Linked DNA regions of Homo sapiens: all the other regions are linked to region 3. The links are contacts of gene promoters, found by promoter capture Hi-C in human tissues and cell types (Jung and others, 2019). All regions are on one chromosome and are shown on one strand. The core of a region is centred on a gene start or on the middle of the fragment in contact, and the rest is flanking DNA. Distances in the headings are between cores, read along the strand shown.

The links. Contacts are between HindIII fragments. The study calls those that stand out against the background at their distance.
Region 1: a fragment that was not itself captured here is called in contact with the fragment with the promoter of GINS4 in region 3 in 1 of the 25 tissues and cell types used here (liver).
Region 2: a fragment that was not itself captured here is called in contact with the fragment with the promoter of GINS4 in region 3 in 1 of the 25 tissues and cell types used here (heart right ventricle).

The regions. Positions count from the first base shown.
Region 1 is chr8:40,208,545-40,211,614 of GRCh38, reverse strand. No RefSeq gene overlaps it. Among named protein-coding and RNA genes, the nearest start is that of TCIM, 57 kb to the right of the region's middle. The HindIII fragment of the contact is 4,749 bases long and covers 1-3,070 here.
Region 2 is chr8:40,246,666-40,249,643 of GRCh38, reverse strand. No RefSeq gene overlaps it. Among named protein-coding and RNA genes, the nearest start is that of TCIM, 95 kb to the right of the region's middle. The HindIII fragment of the contact is 3,343 bases long and covers 1-2,978 here.
Region 3 is chr8:41,527,543-41,530,562 of GRCh38, reverse strand. GINS4 (GINS complex subunit 4) reads right to left here and starts at 1,302. Exons shown (of 8, transcript NM_032336.3): 1 at 1,167-1,302; 2 at 265-379. The coding sequence starts at 360. RefSeq lists a silencer at 1,327-1,756. The HindIII fragment of the contact is 17,762 bases long and covers 1-3,020 here.

The DNA of each region.
Region 1 (3,070 bases), core at 378-2,877, 1.3 Mb after region 3:
ATTGAGTTTACAATAAAAAAAAACACTCTGTCAAGATTTACTTTAGCATTTCGAGGGGAAAAGTTCATTGGAAATTTTTTTTAAAATTTTATTATTATTATACTTTAAGTTTTAGGGTACCTGTGCACAACGTGCAGATTTGTTACATAGGTATACATGTGCCATGTTGGTGTGCTGCACCCATTAACTCGTCATTTAGCATTAGGTATATCTCCTAATGCTATCCCTCCTGGAAATGTTTTAAAACTACGTTGATGGTTTCTTCCCATTCAACATCATCATTATGAACACTTTGTCACTTGTATTAATTGTGTTTCATTGCGTTAATTCTGGCTCCATGGGTCTCTGCCAGTTCCGTTGCAAATAAAATGAACAAAGGAAATCTGGGATACAAAAAGTTTTCTAAGATATGTGTTAATGATAGTATCTAGAAGAAATAAGACCAGATCTAAAATCTGCACTCTAAAGGCTCTGGAGAAATAGCAGTGATTAAACATCCATTAATGAGGGCTGTTACTACCTGGTGCTCATGACCCTTGGTCCGCTGATAATTCGCCATAAAGAGATTAAAATGTAATAGTGCTTTTCTGAGGAGGCTGCAGTAACCATCTTTAACAGCACCCGTGGCAGTGTTATTGTGATTTGCAGTTTCCCTGGTGACCGCCCTTCCGGATGTCCTTCCGAAGAACAGTCAACTTCTGCCCTTCCTCCAAACCAAACTGACTCAGACGATCTGTCCTCATTGAATTAAGTGGCATCCAGGCTTTAGGCATCCTGTTCTTATCTCATTTGTGTCCTCTAAACCAGCCTATGTGCAACCCCCACTGATACTTAGAGAATGATCACAGCACACATAGCCTTGGTTGCAGGCAGGTCCTGGCTTACTTGATCAATGTCTCCAGAAATTGTATACACACTACAGTCTGGTGAGTTAAATCACATCTTAAATAAGCTAGAAGAACTCATTTTTTAAAAAACGTCCACAGAAAATCTTCCCCCACCAAGTCCTTAATTTACCTGAATTATAGCTCTGAGTTGTTACAAACAATATCAAATCTATTTAAAAATCAGCTTAACTGCAAATATCCAATACAATTAATAGTTTAGGGGAAACAGAAAGGTATGGCACGTTGAAGAAATTGACAGTTTTGAGTTTTGAATCCAGCTTTTGGTTTTGCCCTTATTAAGGTTTATAGCCCAGTGCCTGACACTGGTTCTTGATTATATAGTTTATTGCACAACTGGTAATGGATAAATAAAATAAATTCAAAAAGAAATAAATGAAATTGATCATGTGGAGATAGATTCCTAAACAGCTTTCAAAACCGAAATGCCATCTTTATGTAATTTTATTCAAAGTAATAATAACTGTGTTATTTATTACTAAAGAATTTAATTTGCTTTTGAAAATATTTTATTTCACTTAACTGTGATGGTTGTAAAAAGTTGCAGAATTTGCAGAAATATTTCATTATATTTGGCATTTATCATTTGTTTATCACTTTTGCCAACAACGTAAGGAGGTGATGAATTCAAATTTGAAAATAAACATTGAATGTGTTCAGTCTGAATTGTTTGCTTAGCATGAATTACACTTAAAGGACTATTCAGTTTTATGTGAGGTAATGGAAATACCATTCTGTGTCAATGGAAATATTAAGAAGAGGTTGGTTAGAGAAATTTCTGCATTTTGAAGAGATGGTTCCAGACCAATGGCTTGAATCCTTTGTTAGACTTTGGAATGACAAATGAAGTTGAGTAAATAACAAAAACAGAAAAAGAAAACAAAATAAAAACAAAAAAACTGGTGTCTAACCTCCACACCTGATTCTCTTGTTTGTATTTGGGTCTGGGTATAAATATTATTTGAAAGCTCCCTAATACGCAACCACAGTTGAAAACCGTTCCTCTGGAAGATTTCATTATTTCCTTCCAGCACTAAGATTTTGCCCTTCCTAGAAAGTGTTGTACTTTATTGTAGCTTAAGGAACAGGAAAAAAAGAGTGTATATTTTAATTTTGCAAGTAAAAATATTAATTGGGATTGAATGAATCTTCTGATGCAGATAACGTAAAATCACTTTTAATGAAAAAAATTAAATATTTATACAAATATCTGCTATGTTCCATGGGTGGTATACGTAGTTTACATATATGAACTAATTGAACTCTTGGAGTATAGCCTATTAACTAATATTAGAATAATTATATGAAGATGGTAGCACCAGCATCATCATCATTATCCCTATTACAGGTAAACTGATAGGGTTGTTAAGGAGTATGTTTATCTATCAATAAGTGGAAAAACTGAAACCAGGCAGTTGGCTTTAGGGGATACATAGTTACCCCAAACACTCTACTGCCTGTCACAGTTCTACAAACAGGACCCGCCACAATGTGTACACCCAAATCCTTCATCCAGCCTAGTGCCCTTTTTTAGGACATTATAGGACACTTGGGAAAAACTTGATTTATTTTCAATGAATAAGTGCAGAATTCAGCCCTGTCTAAAAGAATGAGCTATAGTCTCCAGTATCATCTTGACATTCCATTAGAAACACCTTGAAGACAGATGGAAATTCATCCCTGTTGTGAAACCCTCCAGAAAATGATATGACACAATATCCCTGAGGTCATACATTTTAATACCTAACCTCTTCTTCCCCCAAGTTTCTTCTTATATCCAATCCAAATGTCTCATATTCTAGTTTTAACTCTTTTATTTTATTATCTTCTCCTTTGTCTAGAGAGGAGCTTGAAAAAAAAAAATCTGACTTGGAACAGTTTCATTTTCCTTAGCCAGCAGCTGGGATATAGGTGGAGCTTTGTGCTCTGTTCCTACCAGATGGCCGAAACTGCTGCCCCAGTGGCGGACAACCATGAATGGGTGCCAGCATTGCTCAGGAGCTTTGAAAAGTGACCCATGGCCAAGCCCCACCCTAGGCCAATTCCATGCTGTGGTCATCTGTCCATGTCAAAAATCTACTACTTCCTAACTGTTAATATCTCTTCACGCAATGTCTTTTATGCATTGCTGGTGATTTTAATAAACTTTGGTTGACCTTTTAGAT
Region 2 (2,978 bases), core at 133-2,632, 1.3 Mb after region 3:
TCACTGAAGGTTTATTTCCAGCAATGTCTTTGAACAAAAATAAATGTCAGTTGGAAGCATGTAAAAGAGCCCTTTTAAAAAGAAACAAAAACAAAAAAACCCTTAAACCTTATTTGAACATCCTGGTTCCAAGGGTGAGGACTGGCTATCTAACCTTTAGGGAATGCATTTGTTAGATATTTATTTCTTAGCTCAGAACAGCAGCACGTGAAAATTGTGGTTCATGGAGAGGCTAAGGGAAACAGAAAAATAGCTTAATGTTGAATGTTTAACCCCATCAGTCTTGGTTTTAAAAAACAGAAACCAACTATGACTGATATAAGCAAAACATAAAATTACTAGGATATTAGGTAACTCATAGAATCACTAGGAATACTGATGAAATGTGTTATGGTTTAAAGGTATCCCCCAAAGAGCATGTGGTGGGAACTTAATCTCAAATGCAATAGTGTTGCCAAGAGGGAGATGGGCCCTAATGGCAGGCGTTTAGGTCACGAGGGCTCCACCTTCATGAATTGATTAATGCTCATTAAAAAATGGCTTGGGGCTTTTTGTCCTTGCGATAGTTTGCTGAGAATGATGGTTTCCAGCTTCATCCATGTCCCTACAAAGGACATGAACTCATCATTTAAAAACCAAACACCACATGTTCTCACTCATAGGTGGCAATTGAACAATGAGAACACATGGACACAGGAAGGGGAACATCACACACTGGGGACTGTTGTGGGGTGGGGGGAGGGGGGAGGGATAGCATTAGGAGATATACCTAATGCTAAATGATGAGTTAATGGGTTCAACACACCAACATGGCACATGTATACATATGTAACAAACCTGCACGTTGTGCACATGTACCCTAAAACTTAAAGTATAATAATAATAAAATAAAATAAAATAAAAAAGAAAATGGCTTGGGGCTGTGAGTCTGATCTCTTGCTCTTTCTTGCCTTCTCTTTGCCCTTCTGCCATGGGATGATACAGCAAGAAGGTACTTGCAAGATGCTGGCCCCTCGATATTGGACCTCTCAACCTCCAAAATGATTAGCCAATAAATTTATGTTCATTATAAATTACCCCGTTTCAAGCATTCTCTGGTAGCAGCACAAAACAGACTAAGACAAACGGATTGTGAAACAGGCAGAAAACAGTTTAGACAACAATAGTGGGCACAATAGTTTATACCAAGACTACCAGCAGCTGTAGGCTCTGGAAACCACTGCCAGTTATGCTTCTTCCATGACCTACAGAAACAGTGAGTTACTGTTTTCTTAGTTACCAGAAATTTCTCACATTGTGTCTTTGCATCTTTGGCTAATGATTCAAAGGCCCAGGCCAGTTCACCTCATTGTCTAAGCTTATGGGAGAAACAAAGATTCTATTTTAACTTCTAAATTATCCTTATGTTGTTACTGCTAGACCAGCTATTATTCTTGCAAAACAAAAGTTTCAGACATACTTTTACTAAATAAGTGATTAATCAAACTTAAAATGTCATGAATGGGAAATCCATGACAAAAAAACCAGTGGTTAGCATTAATTATAATTTGTAAAAAATAATGCTGCAATATGGAAGGCAAATATAAAATATACTTATTTACATATGATATATATTTATTTACATATAATAGTCAACAATAATAATAACTAGTGCCACAGTGTATGGAGAAAAATTGGGAAGTTAGTAGCTTAAGAGAAATAAGAAATATGCTAATTTCTTTGCATAGGATATATTCTTTATATAATATTTATTTAATAAAATGTTATGTTAGTACTTTCAATACTACAGATAATAACCCCTCAAAAAGTGCCCATAGAACACATACAAAGAGTGATCATATATTAGGTTTGTATTAGTAAGAAACTATTTCAGGTAACTTAGAATGTGCCCAGAGAGGCACAAAGAGGCTGTGTTTTGTTTTGTTTTTGTTTTCAAACATAGCAAGAAGTACAGATGAAAAATGTAATTGATGTACAGCTCATTTAAAAGCTCGAAATCACAGTAGATTTATTCTATTAGTTTCTCGGCCTTTCCTTCAGGGTTTTAGTATGTCTGATATTGCTCTCATTGGACCATCTGTGTTCAAGGCAAAAAAGGGGTGGAGAGTAATCAATGGGTTTGTAAGGAAAGAAAAATCTACCAGAAAACACAACAGATTGCCACTTTGGAAACATATCTCCCACAACTGAAGTGGACTAAGGGAAGGGTGGTAGATATGAAGTCAGCTAATCAATATTGTTTATTGACCATAAGATAAAAGAAAAGACCTCATTCAATTAAATGAAATTGTGTAAAACATATTATCATCAAAGTAGAAGTTAACATAAAATGTCAAAAGAATATTTTTCAGCTTTGGAAAATTAAAAATATTGTCCTAATTAACTCTTTTGTCAAAGAGGAAGTCAACTTCAATCACAAACTTTTAAGAAAATCATTACAATGAAGAAACTATACATAAATTATTAGCACTATGTTTAGCTGAACCTTCAAAATTTTAAATATGTCTCTAATAAATGAGACTAGCTGGAAAAATAACTATATAATCAATTCTAAACTTTAAGTTAATTTTTATATGCTAAGAAAATCAGGAAGATTAAACTCAGAGGTAATAAATTAGGAATCAGAAAACAGAAAAACAATAGAGCTAACAGAGACACCCCAAATTATTTCTTTTAAAAATAAATATTTACCTATGTAACAAACCTGCACATCCTGCACATGTACCCTGGAACTTAAAATAAAAGTTGAAGAAAAAGAGATAAAAATAAATATAATAGAAAAACTTTTGTTCTAATGATTATCTGATAATCTTTTAAAAAAAGACAGAAAAAACAAAAACATAAAATTTTACACCAAAAAGCTATAAAAATGTCTGGTTATAGTGTCAAATTGAAAATATGTTGTACTCATTCCTTGAATCCCTACTAAAATTTCAGTAAAGCAATAAAAAGATTATTAATCCACAGAGAAAGAGAAC
Region 3 (3,020 bases), core at 53-2,552:
GGATCCTTGCTCTGTGAACTGTTCACTGAATGTGCCCAAAGCTGTCCCTTACTGACCCCACTTGGGGATGCTGTGTTTGATATGATGAGGTCTCTAACAGAGGATGTCCTTCTTGCTTCCCGTTTCCATGTAGATGGTAAGATCCAGTCCCTGTTCTAAAGTAAGCCCCAAATTCCGTTTCCTCATCTTGTGATCCCTGATATTCACAGTTGAACTAAATAAAAAGGCTGACTGGAGCAAAGGGATTCGATCTGGGATGCTTACCTGCTCCAATCTTTCAATGAGCTCTGCAGGAGTTAGGACCACTTCCTCACTACCCCCATCAGAGTCCTGTCCCAGGAAATCCACTTCTTCGGTCATCTTCTCTGAAACCAGGAACCTAATGAGAGGGAAAGAACCAATACTCTGCAATGCGTTTTCTAATTATCTGCAAGAACAGACATCTATCTGGAGAAAGGAAAGGTTTATTGAGGTTTCCTGGGGTTGTAGAGGCCCTTTAGCAAGTGGTGAGAGAACGCAGGGACTCTAGTTTTCCAGTGTCTGCCTCTTCCTCCAAGGCTTAGGTCAGGTATCCGTTTCTCAAACAAGCCTCCCCCTTACTTCTGTCCACCAAGAGCTGAGCACCCATCACACCATACAATCACTATTCATTTCTTTGACTTCCCAGTAGAGGTCTTGTTCCTCAGGGACGGGGTTCGTTTTAGTTCAAATACGAATCGCGCCTCTGCTCAGTGCCTGGCACTAAGCACTGGGGACGCAATGACGTGGGAAGCCCCTGCGCTCAGCACAGCGCTTGACTCCTAGCAAGCACTTAACATTATTAGGAGCTGGCCGGGCTCACGCCTGTAATCCCAGCACTTTGGGAAGCCGAGGCAGGAAGATACCTTGAGCCCAGGAGTTCGAGACCAGCCTGGGCAACATAGGGAGATCCTGTCTCTATAAAAACAAAAATTGTTAGGAAGATTAATCAATGCTAATTTCCCAGAGCCACAAGGGCCGGCGACATTAGACCAGTCGGCGATCCCAAAGGCCTAAGGAGGTGGATGGCGGGGACAAAGAAAGTCCCTGGGGTCGCAAGGAAACTGCGAACATCCCCCTCCCCTCCTCCCTCTCAGTGCCACCCACACAGGCCTGCCCTAGCCACAGAGGTCCCATTCGACGCTCACTCGGGGACCTGGGAGACAGCGAGGCACTCCACAGCAGCCGGCGGTAAGGACGGGGCGTTCGTGGGGACGCAGTCGGGGCACCAGGAAGCGGGAAGACAGAGGAACAAACTGCTCAAGGACTTGCCGGGACCAACTCAACCCTGCAACTTCTCAGCTCCCGCGCTACTCTCGCAAAGTTTCCGCCCAGGCACGACGTCATCGCGCAAGGGCGACGCTGACCAATCAAGGCCCGGGGGGAAGAGCGGGGCGGTCTCCTTGGGCCCGCCCACCCGGCGGGCGGGGACTGTCTTCGCGGCGGCCTGCAGTCCCAGCAACCCAAGGACTTGAGGCGGCGGGAGGCTGGTCCGGGTTGGCCCCGCCCACCTGGGGGCCGGCCGCTCCGCTGTGCGGTCCGGGTTGCACTACCCAAGAGCGTCGGGAGGGGGCGCCCGCCACCGCGGCCAAGGGGAGCGGCGGTGTCCGCCCCGGGGGGTCCCACCCAGAAGTATGCTGTTGAAAGCAGGCCGCTGCAGCCTCCTGGGCCGTCTCCACCCACAGCTCTCGTGGCTCTTTGGGTTCCTCCGTCTTTGCGGGGTTTCACCTGTGGTCAGTGTGGTCATTGCCTTCAGAATCTCCAGTATATTCCTTTTCATCTTTCTTGAGACAGGGTCTCGTTCTGGTGCCCAGGCTGGAGTGCAGTGGCACCACCACAGCTCACTGCAACCTCCGCCTCCCGGGCTCCAGCGATCCTCCCACCTCAGCCTCCGGAGTAGCTGGGACCACAGGCCAGCGCCACCACGCCCAGTTATTTTTTAATTAAAAAAAAAAAAAAAAAGAACTGTGGCGGGGTTGGGGGTGGGGAGGTTCTCCCTATGATGGCCAGGCTGGTCTCGAACTCAAGGATCCAAGCAATCCTCCCACCTCGGCCTCACAAAGTGGGTACTGGTTCTTGAAGCCTGGGATCGGACGACCAGCAGAAGCATCGCCTGGGAATCCGTGAAAATGCAGGTTCTCAGGCCCCACCCTGGCCCACCGAATCAGAAACTGGGGGTATTTCACCAGACCCAGGCCCTCCCGGTGACCCTGACACAGCTGAGGTTTGAGAATCACTGCTTTGGGGCCGGGCGCGGTGGCTCACGCCTGTAATCCCAGCACTTTGGGAGGCCGAGGTGGGCGGATCACGAGGTCAGGAGATCGAGACCATCCTGGCTAACATGGTGAAACCCCGTCTCTACTAAAAATACAAAAAAATTAGCCGGGCGTGGTGGCGGGCGCCTGTAGTCCCAGCTACTCGGGAGGCTGAGGCGGGAGAATGGCGTGAACCCGGGAGGCGGAGCCTGCAGTGAGCCAAGATGGCGTCACTGCACTCCAGCCTGGGAGACAGAGCCAGACTCCATCTCAAAAAAAAGAAAAAAAAAGAAAAAAGAAAAGAGAATCACTGCTTTGGGGCAATGCTTTCAACTCACCTTCTGGAGGGGAAAAGCACAAAAACCCATGTCTGTATATGTATATATTTTTTCCATCTTTGTGTGATCCAGTTTTTCTTCTCTGAGTTGCTGATTCTTTTCTCTTTGCTGTCCTTTGTTTTCTGTGCAAAGCGTTGCTTCTGGCTTCCCTAAAAGTATCTCTTCTCCATCAATCTGAGGGCTCTTTGCAAAGCTGCCCTATGATGTCATATTGATTGACTAGTAAAATGATTGGCTAATATAGTATGATCGTACCTGCCTGATTACAATCCTGTTATGAAAATGACAATAGAATAAGCCGAGTGAGAGAGTAGGCATCTTTACAAAGCGCTGTGTAAGCTGGGGCATATCAGCACGGGATTCCCAAAAGGAAGGGACATTTGAGCTGTGTCTTATGAAATGAATTTTG